Linked DNA regions of Homo sapiens: regions 1 and 2 are each linked to region 3. Evidence: promoter capture Hi-C in 16 types of primary human blood cells and fetal thymus (Javierre and others, 2016). All regions are on one chromosome and are shown on one strand. Each heading gives the region's core, a stretch centred on a gene start or on the middle of the fragment in contact. The rest is flanking DNA. Distances are from core to core; before and after follow the strand shown. Region 1 overlaps TWSG1 (twisted gastrulation BMP signaling modulator 1). Region 2 overlaps TWSG1 (twisted gastrulation BMP signaling modulator 1). Region 3 holds the start of NDUFV2 (NADH:ubiquinone oxidoreductase core subunit V2).

Region 1 (4,430 bases), core at 229-2,728, 300 kb after region 3:
TATTTTTTGGTAGGGAAACATTAGGGTCTCCTTTTCTTCCTTTTACCTAGAATGCCTCATTTAAAAGTGCCTTGAAAACATTTAGCTCCCCTTCTTCATGAGCATCTGTAGAGCTGAAAGTATTCTGGAACTTTAGACAGAAAGCTGAAAGGAATCTGCAGTCTCCTGCTGCAGTTCAACTCTGCTGTTTTTCAGTCATTTCCTACTGTGAGTGGAGTGATGTTTGTGTGTGTGTTGGCAACATGCCTAATGTTTTCTTAATGATGACAACAAATATTTTAAAACTGCATTTATCATTTTTTAGGTCTTCATTAAATTTTAAAATGTAATATCTGTTTCCCACCCCCTACATTAGGAGGATAATTTCTTAAACCACATTGTTTTAATTGATTTTTCTTATCTTGATTTCTTTCATTAGAAACTATCCCTAAATGTAAAGATCTTTTGCCTTCAAATTTGGCTTATTTTTTCTGATTTATGAGGGTTTGAAAGAAAGAATTCACCTAAAAGATTCCATTTCCAGTTTTATAATGTATTTCAGGTTCTGAATAACAATATTTTTCCAAATTGAAAGTAAATATTCCAGAAGTTGATAGCCTGGTTAAAAGTTAGATCCTCTATTACCATTCTAAGCACATTCACTTCTATATTGAAGTTTTGGTAAAAATTCTTTTTTCTTTTTTAATAAAAAATTAGGTTATTACTTTTTTTATAACCAGATTTTTAAAGCACTAGGTTTTAAATCAGTGGGTATCATAAAAGCCATATATAAAAGATCCTTTCTTATAGTAAGACTTGTGCTTGTTAGCAGGTTTTTCTGTTAGTTTTTCCCCCATAACATTTAATTATTACTAAAATTGTATTTACAATAGTGGTGCCAAATCAAATGGTAATTTAAATAAAATCTATTCTGTGTTTATGTAGGGTGGTATAAAAAAGAGGTCTTCATTTAGACATGTGATTTCTAAAATTCCAGAAAGCAAAATTGATAAGATGTTAGAAATTTGGACCATTATTTATAATCAGGGTAGCATTAAAATGGAGAAAAGAAAGTTTTCTGAAAAAATGCAGTAAATATAAGCCACATTTCTAAAGTTTATTTTTATGAAAGCTTCTTTTAAGATTTTGAAATCTATTCTGCATTCCCAAGAGTTTATGTTTATTGTATTTTATATGATCTACAACATATAAAATTGTGTATTTTTCTTTGGTTGTCCCTATTAACAAAAAAGTATTTTAATAAAAAATTGAAATGAGTGAGTCATATTTTTTGTTAACTTCAGCATAGACATAAATTTGACATTCTGTCTAAAGAAGATAGTGTTTAAGTGATCAGCGGGCCGGGTGCGGTGTCACTTTGGGAGGCTGAGGTGGGCAAATCACTTGATCTCAGGAGTTCAAGACCAGCCTGGGCAACATGGTGAAACCTCGTCTTTACAAAAATAAAAAAATTATCCGGGCATGTTGATGAGAGGTGAAGCCACCTGGACTTCTTGTTTCGAGTGGGGACTTGGAGAACTTTTCTGTCTTACAAGAGGATTGTAAAATGCACCAATCAGTGCTCTGAAGCTAGCAAGAGCATTGTAAAATGCACCAATCAGTGCTCTGTAAAACACACCAATCAGCGCTCTGTAGCTAGCAAGAGGGTTGTAAAATGCACCAATCAGTGCTCTGTAAAACACACCAATCAGCAGGATCCTAAAAGTAGCCAATCGCAGAGAGGATTGAAAAAAGGGCACTCTGATAGGACAGAAACAGAACATGGTGGGGAGGGGCCAATAAGGGAATAAAAGCTAGCCACCCCAGCCAACAGCGGCAACCAGCTCGGGTCCCCTTCCACCCTGTGGAAGCTTTGTCCTTTTGCTCTTCACCATAAACCCTGCTATTGCTCTCTCTTTGGGTCCGTGCCATCTTTAAGAGTTGTAACACTCACTGAGAAGGTCTGCGGCTCCATTCTTGAAGTCAGCAAGACCACGAACCCACCAGCAGGAGCCAACTCCAGACACAGTAATTATGTGCCTGTAGTCCCACCTACTCTAGAGGCTGAGGTGGGAGGATCACTTGAGCCCAGGGAGGCGGAAGCTGCAGTGAGCCCTGATTGTGCCACTGCACCTCTGCCTGGGTGACAGAGCAAGACCCTGTCTTAAAAAACAAACAAACAAAAAAAACAATCAGCAAAGAATGTTCTTTTCTCAGGATGTCTCTACAGATTCTCTCAGAACAGATCTTAGAACATTTTGCTGTCTGCTTTTTCATATGCTTTATTCCAATATGGGGGAACCTTTTAAATGAATACTTTACTATTCTGCTTGCTCTGTGGGCCTTCAGATGCCAACCAACTTTATAAGAATGATCTAAAGGTTGCAAGGAGTTGCAGAAGGATCAAGGTAGGGAAAAACCTTTCTCAGCTCTCCCACAGGATACTGTTAGAATTGAGAGCCACAAACTGTGCTGCCATGGCAAAATCCACCTTATTTCAGAGTCCATGTTTTGGCAGCCTCGTGCCTGGGGGATCTAGAGAGGGGAAGAACTCAAGAGGACAGCCTGAGTGACTTAAGAAAGGAGCTGGGGCATTCGGAAGGTAGGATGAGTTTCAAGGACAGATACAACGTTTGACCAGGAAAGCTGTGCTTTTGCTGAAGGTGTCCACACAGCAGCTAGTCATGTGGACAGTCAGAGAGAGTGAAGCTGAGCTGGAAGGGGAGGCATCCAAGCCCAAGGCTCCAGGAGACATTGCAGACAACATGGCGCATCCGGCCCCATGGGGCTGCTCCAGACCTGGCAGGCACTGAGCTCAGTAAGCCAGGCAGACATGCCATTAGCGCCATTAGCTGGTGGGTGTTAGCCATTACAGCTCTTTGACCTTTGAGCTTTAACTAACCAGTAAAAAGTAAATGTGGGCCAGGCGCAGTGGCTCACGCCTGTAATCCCAACACTTTGGGAGGCGGAGGCGGGCAGATCACCTGAGGTTAGGAGTTCGAGACCAGCCTGGCCAACGTGGTGAAACCCCGTCTCTACTAAAAAATACAAAAATTAGCCAGGTGTGGTGGCACGTGCCTGTAATCCCAGCTACTCAGGAGGCTGAGGCAGGAGACTCGCTTGAAGCCGGGAAGCGGAGGTTGCAGTGAGCCGAGAATGCGCCGCTGCCCTCCAGCCTGGGCCACAAGAGTGAAACTCCGTCTCAATTAAAAAAAAAAAAAAAAAGTATGTTCTACCTCCTTTTATTTTAAAGTCTGCTTGAAGTGTGGAGTCAGCAACAACTCCAAGGTTTGGCTTTTGAGATGAGAATTCTCCGTGCAGATGCAAAGAGGAAAAGAATTCTGCCCCCTCCCAGTAATGCTGGGAAACCTGGAGTCCGCGCTGTGACTCACCGAATGACGCCTGGAGAGTGCAGGCGCCCCGCCAGTCAGGGAGACAGGACTTCCCTCACTGGGCTGAAGATAGCCCCTGAAGTTAGGCACAGTCACCGGCGAAATATCTTTATGGCAGAAATGTGTTTCCTGCCCGTCTAACTTAGGTACTTCCCTCTGCAGCCAGCGTAATCTTTCTAGAACACGTGTACCGGTAATTACTGCTTCCACCCCCAGTTCTAGGCAAAGAGCAAGGCCGTTGCGCTCGTCTGCCTCGGAAAGGTATGAGTTACCCACTAGGAAGTCGAGCAAGGGCAGAGAACCTATCTCTTGTTTTCCTGAAGCCTCCCTGGCTCCGGGGTGTTCTGCTAGGGGAAGGGAGAGAATGAGGCCTTTGAGGGCCTGAGAGAGGGGCCAGGAAGGTAGGTCCCAGAGGCCCAGGTCTCTTGACCGTGGAGACCAGCGCTCTCGGCCCGTGACTCACGGGAAACCCGAGCCTGCAGTTGCTTCTTTCCAGGGGTTTCTACTTAGAAATATTAGCAGCCCAGCCCTCATTGTCCAAAGCCCCCAAGACTTGCCACCAGGGTTCTGTGAGTCCCAAGATGGGTGGCAGAGCCTCTCTCCTGGCCAGTGTTGGATGGGATGAGGCTCAGAGTCGGATTTTACTTGATTCCAAGAAAACAATGAGACAGAATGCGTTGCAGCCCTGGGTTTGTGGACTGCATTTGTGTCCCAAGACTCCTTGTCTCACAGCCTCGGCTGGCATCTCCTCTTCCTGTCTCATGTCTTATCCCCACTCCCATCACTGCTGACCCCTGCCTCAGCAGGCCAAGCTCGTGCTGCCGTCTCTCTCACCCTCAGGCTGTCGCAGGAGTTGTTTCCCCTGCTGGACCTGCTTTCTGTGCAGATTGTGGCTCCTTGCTCTGACCTCCCTTTTTTTTTTTTTTTTTTTTTTTTGAGATGGGGTCTCCGTCTGTCACCCAGGCTGGAGTGCAGTGGCACCATTTTGGCTCACTGCAGCCTTCGCCTCCCTGGCTCAGCGATCCTCCTCACCTCAGCCTCACAAGTAGCTGGGTTCAC
Region 2 (4,148 bases), core at 938-3,437, 280 kb after region 3:
GAAAAAGAAATAACAAGAGGCTCTCCCCAACAAACTCTCAGCAACTTTAGATAACCAATAACAAAAAGGTTGAGGTGAACCACTTAATATCAAAATATGTCTTACATGCAATGACTAAATATACAAGTTTGAAGAACAGAAAGACCAGTATGGCTAGATGTTTGTAAATAAGGAGAAGGGTAGAGAATGATGAGTGAGAGAGGTAGGTCAGGACCAGGTGTTGGAGACCATGGAAAGGAGTTTGGATTATATCCTAAGTATAATGGAAACTCATTGGAGAGTGTATGGTGGTGATATCCGAATTACACGTTTTTTTTTTGTTTTTTTTTTTTTTTTTTGAGATGGAGTCTTGCTCTGTCACCCAGGCTGAGGTGCAGAGGTGTGATCTTGGCCACTGCAGACTCCGCCTCCCAGGTTCAAACGATTCTCCTGCCTCAGCCTCCTGAGTGGCTGAAATTACAGGTGTGCACCACCACACCCAGCTAATTTTTGTATTTTTAGTAGAGACAGGTTTTCACCATGTTGGCCAGGCTGGTCTCGAACTCCTGACCTTGTGATCCACCCACCTCGGCCTCCCAAAGTGCTGGGATTACAGGCATGAGCCACTGCACCCGGCCTTGAATTACACTTTTAAATGATCATTCTGACTTTTATATGGAGGTAGATTTAAGGATGTAAAGAGAAGAAACAAATTAGGAGACTGTTGCAGTAGTTCAAGTAAAAGATTATGGTGGATTTGATTAGGATTACTGATAGCAGTGGAAATGGTGGCACTCAGATTCTGAAAATATTTTGGAGGGAAACTGTCAGAGTTTGGTTTGAATTGGATATAAGATCTGAGAAAAGGGAGGAATTAAAGTTGACCTATGAGGTAGGTAAAGTAGGGTGGATTTACAAATCAGTATCATTAAGGAATTGAAATTTTGGCCAGAGTGTTGAGTGAATCTTTGATGTGAATATTGAAATTGTCAAGAATGACAGTGGGTCCAGTGGTGGAAATGAGATAGTGATCCAGGTATTGAAGTTACTAGTAAGTAGGGGAGAAATGGCTGAGTATACAAAGATAATAGCCAAAAGGAGGGAAAAGGAATGGTAACATTAAATAATGTGTGTTTTAAAGGAGCTGGAGTTTTCTAAAGAGAATAGAAGACAGTTTAAAATCCCTTAAACAATTATGTTTCCAAATTCAGTCAAAATGTAATGGGGGCTTGGTCTAGGATGATAGCAGAGGAGATGAAGAGAGGTGGCCTCATTAGAAAAATAATTACAGGTTAAACTCGACTAGATTTGGTGACAGTTTGGAAATGGGAACTGAGGGGTGATGGGAGCCAGGAATAACCTTTAGGCTTCTGTTTATGTGACTGGATAAATTGTGACAGGGAACCAAGATAAGCTTATCTAAGACCCAGGTATGTTAGGGAAGATGACTGAGACAGTTGAATTTGAGGGGCCTATAAGGTTCCCAAGTGGCGATGTTCTGTAGGAAGTTGGATACAAATATCTGGAAGAAATGGATCAATGGATGAGTAGATTGATATGCAGGTAATGGTTGATCACATTTTCCAACTCCTTCAAGTTAATGTGACTTCTGGTTCAATATGATGGTCTAAATTCACATATTTTCTTCCCTTCCACTTAGGATGCCAGTAAAATGAAATAAAGGGATAAGATTGGAAATAACTCTAAAAACAAAGATAAATAAAAGGAACAATTGTAATTTGAGTCTGCATCAGATATCTAAAAGGAAAGACAAATGTGCTTATGTGCTTTCCCTTTTTTTTTTTTTTTGGAGACAAAGTCTTGCTCTGTCGCCCGGGCTGGAGTGCAGTGGCTCAACCTTGGCTCACTGCAACCTCCGTCTCCTGGGTTTAAGCTATTCTCTTGCCTCAGCCTCCCGAGTAGCTGGGACTACAGGCACATGCCACCATGCCTGGCTAATTTTTGTATTTTTAGTAGAGATGGGATTTCACCCTGTTGGCCAGGCTGGTCTTGAACTCCTGATCTCAGGTGATCCACCTGCCTCAGCCTCCCAAAGTGCTGGGATTTACAGGCATGAGCCACCACACCCGGCCCAGATGTGCTTGCTCTTTAGTAAACAGATTGGAAGGAACACCAAAACAAATTGCATAAAAGGGGGTTATGGTGAGAGTATGAGTGACCTTTCCGGCTAAACCCCAAAGAGGCTCCAGTTGCAGCTTTATGGAGTGTGGGTGTGAGAAATGAATTTGAAAATAGCGAGATTATTTGAAGATCTGTCTGTAGAACAGCTGTATGATTTGATAACCAATTCCCTCCTCCATTCGTCAGAAAAAGTTCCAAGTAATTAAGAAGTTTCTCTAGGAAAAAGAAATTGGAGAATTTCTTTCTAGAGAAATTGAAGGGAACTAGCTGAAAAGAAGTAGGGCCACTGATGTGTTATTGGTACCCAGGCAAGGCCTCCTCATTCAGGCATTGTAGGGAGGGAAGGTGTCTCCAGCCTAATGACTAGATGCGAAAGAAAAATAGAATAAGTGTAGCTTAAAAGAAAGAACGGGCCGGGCGCGGTGGCTCACGCCTGTAATCCCAGCACTTTGGGAGGCCGAGGCGGGTGGATCATGAGGTCAGGAGATCGAGACCATCCTGGCTAACAAGGTGAAACCCCGTCTCTACTAAAAAATACAAAAAATTAGCCGGGCGCGGTGGCGGGCGCCTGTAGTCCCAGCTACTCGGGAGGCTGAGGCAGGAGAATGGCGTGAACCCGGGAAGCGGAGCTTGCAGTGAGCCGAGATTGCGCCACTGCAGTCCGCAGTCCGACCTGGGCGACAGAGCGAGACTCCGTCTCAAAAAAAAAAAAAAAAAAAAAAAAAAGAAAGAACGAAGTAAAAAGCAGACCAAGGAGGAAATATTTAGGACATAAAAGAAATCTTTTAAAAACTGATTGTTATCTTTTAGAAAAAGTTAACAAAGTATCATGTCTGTATTATGAAAAACAATCAGAATAAGAAAGCTTTTGCAAATTTAAAATTCAAATGGGGCCGGGCATGGTGGCTCACACCTGTAATCCCAGCACTTTGGGAGGCCAAGGCGGATGGATCACCTGAGGTCAGGAGTTCGAGACCAGCCTGGCCAATATGGCGAAACCCCAACTCTACTAAAAATACAAAAATTAGCTAGGCGTGGTGGCGCATGCCTGTAGTCCCAGATACTCAGGAGACTAAGACAGGAGAATCGCTTGATCCCGGGAGGCGGAGGTTGCAGTGAGCCGAGATCGTGCCACTGATGCCTGAGCAACACAGCGAGAATCTGTCTCAAAAAAAAAAAAGAAGCCGAGTGTGGTGGCTCACACCTGTAATCCCAACGTTTTGGGAGATCGAGGTGGGCAGATCACCTGAGGTCAGGAGTTCAAGACCAGCCTGGCTAACATGGTGAAACCGCGTCTGTACTAAAAATACAAAAATTAGCCGGGCGTGGTAGTGGGCATCTGTAATCCCAGCTATTCAGGAGGCAGGAGAATTGCTTGAACCCAGGAGGCGGAGCTTGCAGTGAGCCAAGATCACACCACTGCACTCCAGCCCGGGTGACAGAGCGAGACTCCATCTCAAAAAAAAAAAAAAAGCAATTGGAAAAATAATAAGAGAGTCTGAAAATATTATTGGAGTGTCATAGAATATAGTGAAAACAGGCAGATAATATAACAGGGAAAGAATAGGCACTCCAGAAGAATTAAAAAAAAAAGAAAAAAGGAAGGAGGGAAGAAATTATCGAATAGTAGAAGAAAAATTACCAAAGCTGAGAAAAAAAACAGTGAGTCCTTAGGTTGAAAGAGCCTTCAGAATGCTGAGTGAGATGAGTGAAAAAAGACCTACATGTGGCACATCTTCACAAAATTTTACAACTTCTAGGTTAAAAAATATTCTAAAATATTTCAGAAAGAATAATAGAGTTTGTATACAAGAAGTTAAAAATCACACTGCCATCAGACTTCTCATCAGTATCACTGGGCCAATGACTTAAGTGGTTGGTGGGAAAACTATTTTGACCTGTCAAATTATCAGGAATGTGAATGTAAAATAGAAACATTTTTAGACAAATAAGAACTCAAAGTTTACTTCTCACCTACCGTTTCTAAAAGAATTAGTAGAGGATCAATCAAACAAAACAGGATAGAA
Region 3 (3,853 bases), core at 1,095-3,594:
CTGAACCCCCGTAGTCTGATTCTAGAGTATTCCCTCTTAACCACTATGTCTTGTAAGCCAATGAGACAAGAAGGCTGCTGGAGGAACATCTGGGACACTTTAGAGGTAAGAGTTCTTTTTCTTCTTTGGAATGTTGTCATTTGTACATGATACTTGGAACTGCTGCAGATATCTTGTGTCTATAATAGGAGTCACGGCTGAGTATGTTGGAGTAAAAAGATGGAAGCCACTAAACATTTTGAAGACATCCTTGAGCAAGGTTGAATTAACTAACCTTGGAGCTACTCTACCTCTGGAATTGTTTTTCATGTGAGAAAATGAACCCAGTATCCTTTAATCTACTTGTTAGAACTCCTGTTACTTGTAGCGAAAAGCACTCTCACCGATACACATAGAAACAAGCATAATTCTGACCTAAGACAAATAGAAATGAGCATAATTCTAACCCTTTTAGGTAGGCAGAATATTTGCACTATGGGCAAGATTTTCATTCAGACAACAAATATTTATTGAATGCCTTCTACTTGCCAAGTATAGTGCAAGTTGCTGAACCAAACAATATAGGAAGGGCAGGTTTCTCCATCCATGGAGGTTATAATCTGGTCGTAAATGTAGTAGTGAAAGTGCGGGCAGGCATATTTTGGGACGGTATCTTGAGGACTAATCTGGATTGGGAGTCAGAGAATGCCCTAATAAAATCCAGTAAAAGCATGCATTACAGATTCAAAAAGAATCCATATAATGTCTATCTCATCCATCAAGTATTTGTGACATGTTTTGGCTTTAGTTGTATAAGAACAGTAAGTATGTGCACAATAGTGTTAGGTGTATAAGTATTTTTATTTTTTATTTTTTATTTTTGAGACGGAGTCTCGCTCCGTCGCCCAGGCTGGAGTGCAGTGGCGCGATCTCGGCTCACTGCAAGCTCCGCCTCCCGGGTTCACGCCATTCCCCTGCCTCAGCCTCCCGAGTAGCTGGGACTACAGGCGCCTGCCACCATGCCCGGCTAATGTCTTGTATTTTCAGTAGAGACGGGGTTTCACCGTATTAGCCAGGATGGTCTCGATCTCCTGACCTCGTGATCTGCCCACCTCAGCCTCCCAAAGTGCTGGGATTACAGGCGTGAGCCACGCGCCCGGCCAGGTGTATAAGTATTTAGGTAACTTTATAACAAAATACATTTACATTAAGGGCCAGACTGTCTTTTCCTTTTAAAGGGAAATACTGAAGCTAATTTAGGAGAGGCAAACTAACATAAAATATAAGGCAAAGGAGTGGGAACCAAGGCATTTGGTATCTATTTCTAGCTCACTGGGCAGCAGTCCTCTGTGTCTTGAATTCTGTGATTTGCGAAATATGATTCATAGGGGTTGCAATGGAATATTTCTGAGTTTTTAAACTAATGAGGGATAAATTTTTAAAATCCCTGTGCTGCTGTGAATGTTCTAGAAATTATTCACAAGTTTATTATAGCAAAGAAAATGGGCAAAAGGAAGGGGGTGGGTACAGGACGTGACACTCCAGAAAAGAAGGCAGTGACGTAAAAAATCAAGAGGAAGTCCACACCAGGAAATAGTGCTGTGCACATTAGAGCTGTTACTGAATAAATACTTGTTGGAATTTCCAGAGATAACCAAACAAACATGAAGAAGGAAGTGGGTTTTTTTTTCAGCTTTATTATGGAAAATATCTAATATGTACAAAAGTACCGAGAATAGTAAATAAGAACGACCATGCAGCTTCTATGGCCTTACTTAACGGCCAACTTGCTTTATTTTTCACCTCCCGCTCCCCACTATTCTCAAGCAAATTCCAGACATCATACCATTTAACCCCTAAATATGTCGCACATATCTCTAATGCAAAAGATTGGGAACCAAGACATTTGGTGTCTATGGCTAGCACACTGGATAGCAGCCCTCTGTGTCTTGAATTCGTAACATGTAGAATAAGATTTATAGTGGGTTGCAACCCGACTTTATTTTTAACTAACAGCAATATAAGAGGAGGTGGCTAATCCTCACAAGGCTCTCCATGAGGGAAGCTCACCCCTATAAATCCAGGCGGGCGCTTCGTTACCCAGGAGCCCAAGGTGCAGCTCCGGGACGCTTCTTTTCAAGGCCGGGACCCCTGCAGCGGCCCGTAGGACACCTCCCTTTCCGAGCACGGACTGGTCCCCGCCCCTCCCCCGGGAAGTCTCCGCCCACAGGGCCCCAGCAGCCCCCGCGCGCCCTCGCTCCCTCCCGTCAGCCCCCGCCCCTCGGCGAAGGGAGCGGCGTGCCGTCCGGGTCGCCTAGGCCTGGGGTCGGGAGCGCGCACGCTGTGCGCCCTGGGCGCGCTCGGGATTCTCGCCTGGCGCGGCTGGGGAAGGTGAACAGTGTGGCCCGCCATGTTCTTCTCCGCGGCGCTCCGGGCCCGGGCGGCTGGCCTCACCGCCCACTGGGTAAGGAGGCTCAAGCTGAGCCCGGCGCTGCCGCCGCCCTTCTCTTGCTCTCCGTGTCTCCCTTAGTTTTGGGCGCAGGAGAGCCCTGGGCTCTGCACGGGCCTGCAGGCGGCGGCAAGGACACTGCGGCCTTAGCCCTCTTAGGGAGGCCGCTGCAGCCCCACCGTGAGAAGCCCCGAGGGAGGGTTGCCATACTGGGAAGTGTACTCCTAGTTTGGTCGAGGAGGACAGAAAAGAGGGGCTGCTTGGTGATATATATATATATGTTTGTTTGTTTTTGCTGTTTTGCTGTAGCGCAGAATCTAGGCCTGCTCTGGCCAGATCAGTTTCGAAGACCGTCGCTCCGAAGGAGGCACCTCTCGTTTCAAGCCTAGTGACCTCGATGCTTTTAGGTTGCAGCATACTGGAGAGCTCTGGCTTGCTTCGTGAAGGCTTAGGGAGAACTTCATTAGGGCTGGAAAAGGGTGGCCAATGTTTGATTTACTGCAGTTGTGCTTTGCATATCGGAAATGCTGGCTAAATAAACGGTATCAAACTAACTCTGAAAGAACGGCGCCGCAAATAACAGCACCCAATTAAAGAACCACAGGATTTTAGAGATTAAATGATCTTTTTGAGATCCAAGTACATCTCATGGTAGGCAAGGAAATTGAATTGCAGAGAAGTTGAAACACTCCTTCACGTTAATCTAAAAATGCAGATTTCCAGAAATGTCGATTATAACAACAGGGCCTGTTACACAAGTAATACTGGAAAGAAGCCTTAGTTTTGTTTGTTTTCTAAGAGTGAAATAGGTTAAGTCAGTTCTCAGCAAGAGGGAGCTAGTGTATATTCATTGAGAATGAATTCAGGGCTTTAGAGTTAGACTCGAGTTTGGATGTTAGCTTAACTGCCTTTTGTGGCTCTATGACTTTGTGCTGTTAATCTTCCTCAGTTTCTTCAGTTGTAAAATGGGAATATTCCTTTTTGCAGAGTTCAGTCTTTCAATAAACATTTGAAGTCTTACTGTACGTCATGCACTGCTGAGCTCTAGTTAACAGTGTGGATAATAATGATAGTCATTTGATAACTGTTTTCTGTATGCCAAGCACCGAGTTAAATATCTACATTCCACATCTCATTTTTGAGGCTGGTATTACTTTTTCCTCATATTACAGATAAGGAAAAGATTTAGACAGTTCCCGTTCTTTTGGAATTGATAGTCTCATGTAAGAGGAACTTTAAGGTTGAGACAATGTAAAAGTACAGTGTTAGAGAGATGAATAGGGTCATCCAATGTGGTTTCAAGGTGCATAAGATTTTTCCTGAAGGTAATACTAACAGATTGGGCATGGGGTCCGAGGGTATTCTAGGTGGAAAGGACAACTTAAAGTCTTGTTGGCAAGAAAAAGATCGGTATGTATGAGAAGC

Evidence for each region. Contacts are between HindIII fragments. The CHiCAGO score rates a contact against its expected background, and 5 or more counts as called.
Region 1: a fragment that was not itself captured here is called in contact with the fragment with the promoter of NDUFV2 in region 3 in 1 of 17 cell types (megakaryocytes); the score reaches 5.6 in megakaryocytes.
Region 2: a fragment that was not itself captured here is called in contact with the fragment with the promoter of NDUFV2 in region 3 in 1 of 17 cell types (megakaryocytes); the score reaches 6.3 in megakaryocytes.

What each region holds. Positions count from the first base shown.
Region 1 is chr18:9,401,165-9,405,594 of GRCh38, forward strand. It overlaps TWSG1 (twisted gastrulation BMP signaling modulator 1), which reads left to right. Exons shown (of 5, transcript NM_020648.6): 5 at 1-1,256. LOC105371980 (a long non-coding RNA gene) reads left to right here and starts at 3,229. Exons shown (of 3, transcript XR_001753550.2): 1 at 3,229-3,632. The HindIII fragment of the contact is 739 bases long and covers 1,110-1,848 here.
Region 2 is chr18:9,382,875-9,387,022 of GRCh38, forward strand. All of the region lies in intron 3 of TWSG1 (twisted gastrulation BMP signaling modulator 1), which reads left to right. Among named protein-coding and RNA genes, the nearest start is that of TWSG1, 50 kb to the left of the region's middle. The HindIII fragment of the contact is 1,593 bases long and covers 1,392-2,984 here.
Region 3 is chr18:9,100,355-9,104,207 of GRCh38, forward strand. NDUFV2 (NADH:ubiquinone oxidoreductase core subunit V2) reads left to right here and starts at 2,345. Exons shown (of 8, transcript NM_021074.5): 1 at 2,345-2,443. The coding sequence starts at 2,390. RefSeq lists a silencer at 2,073-2,432 and an enhancer at 2,705-3,414. The HindIII fragment of the contact is 6,653 bases long and covers 1-3,853 here.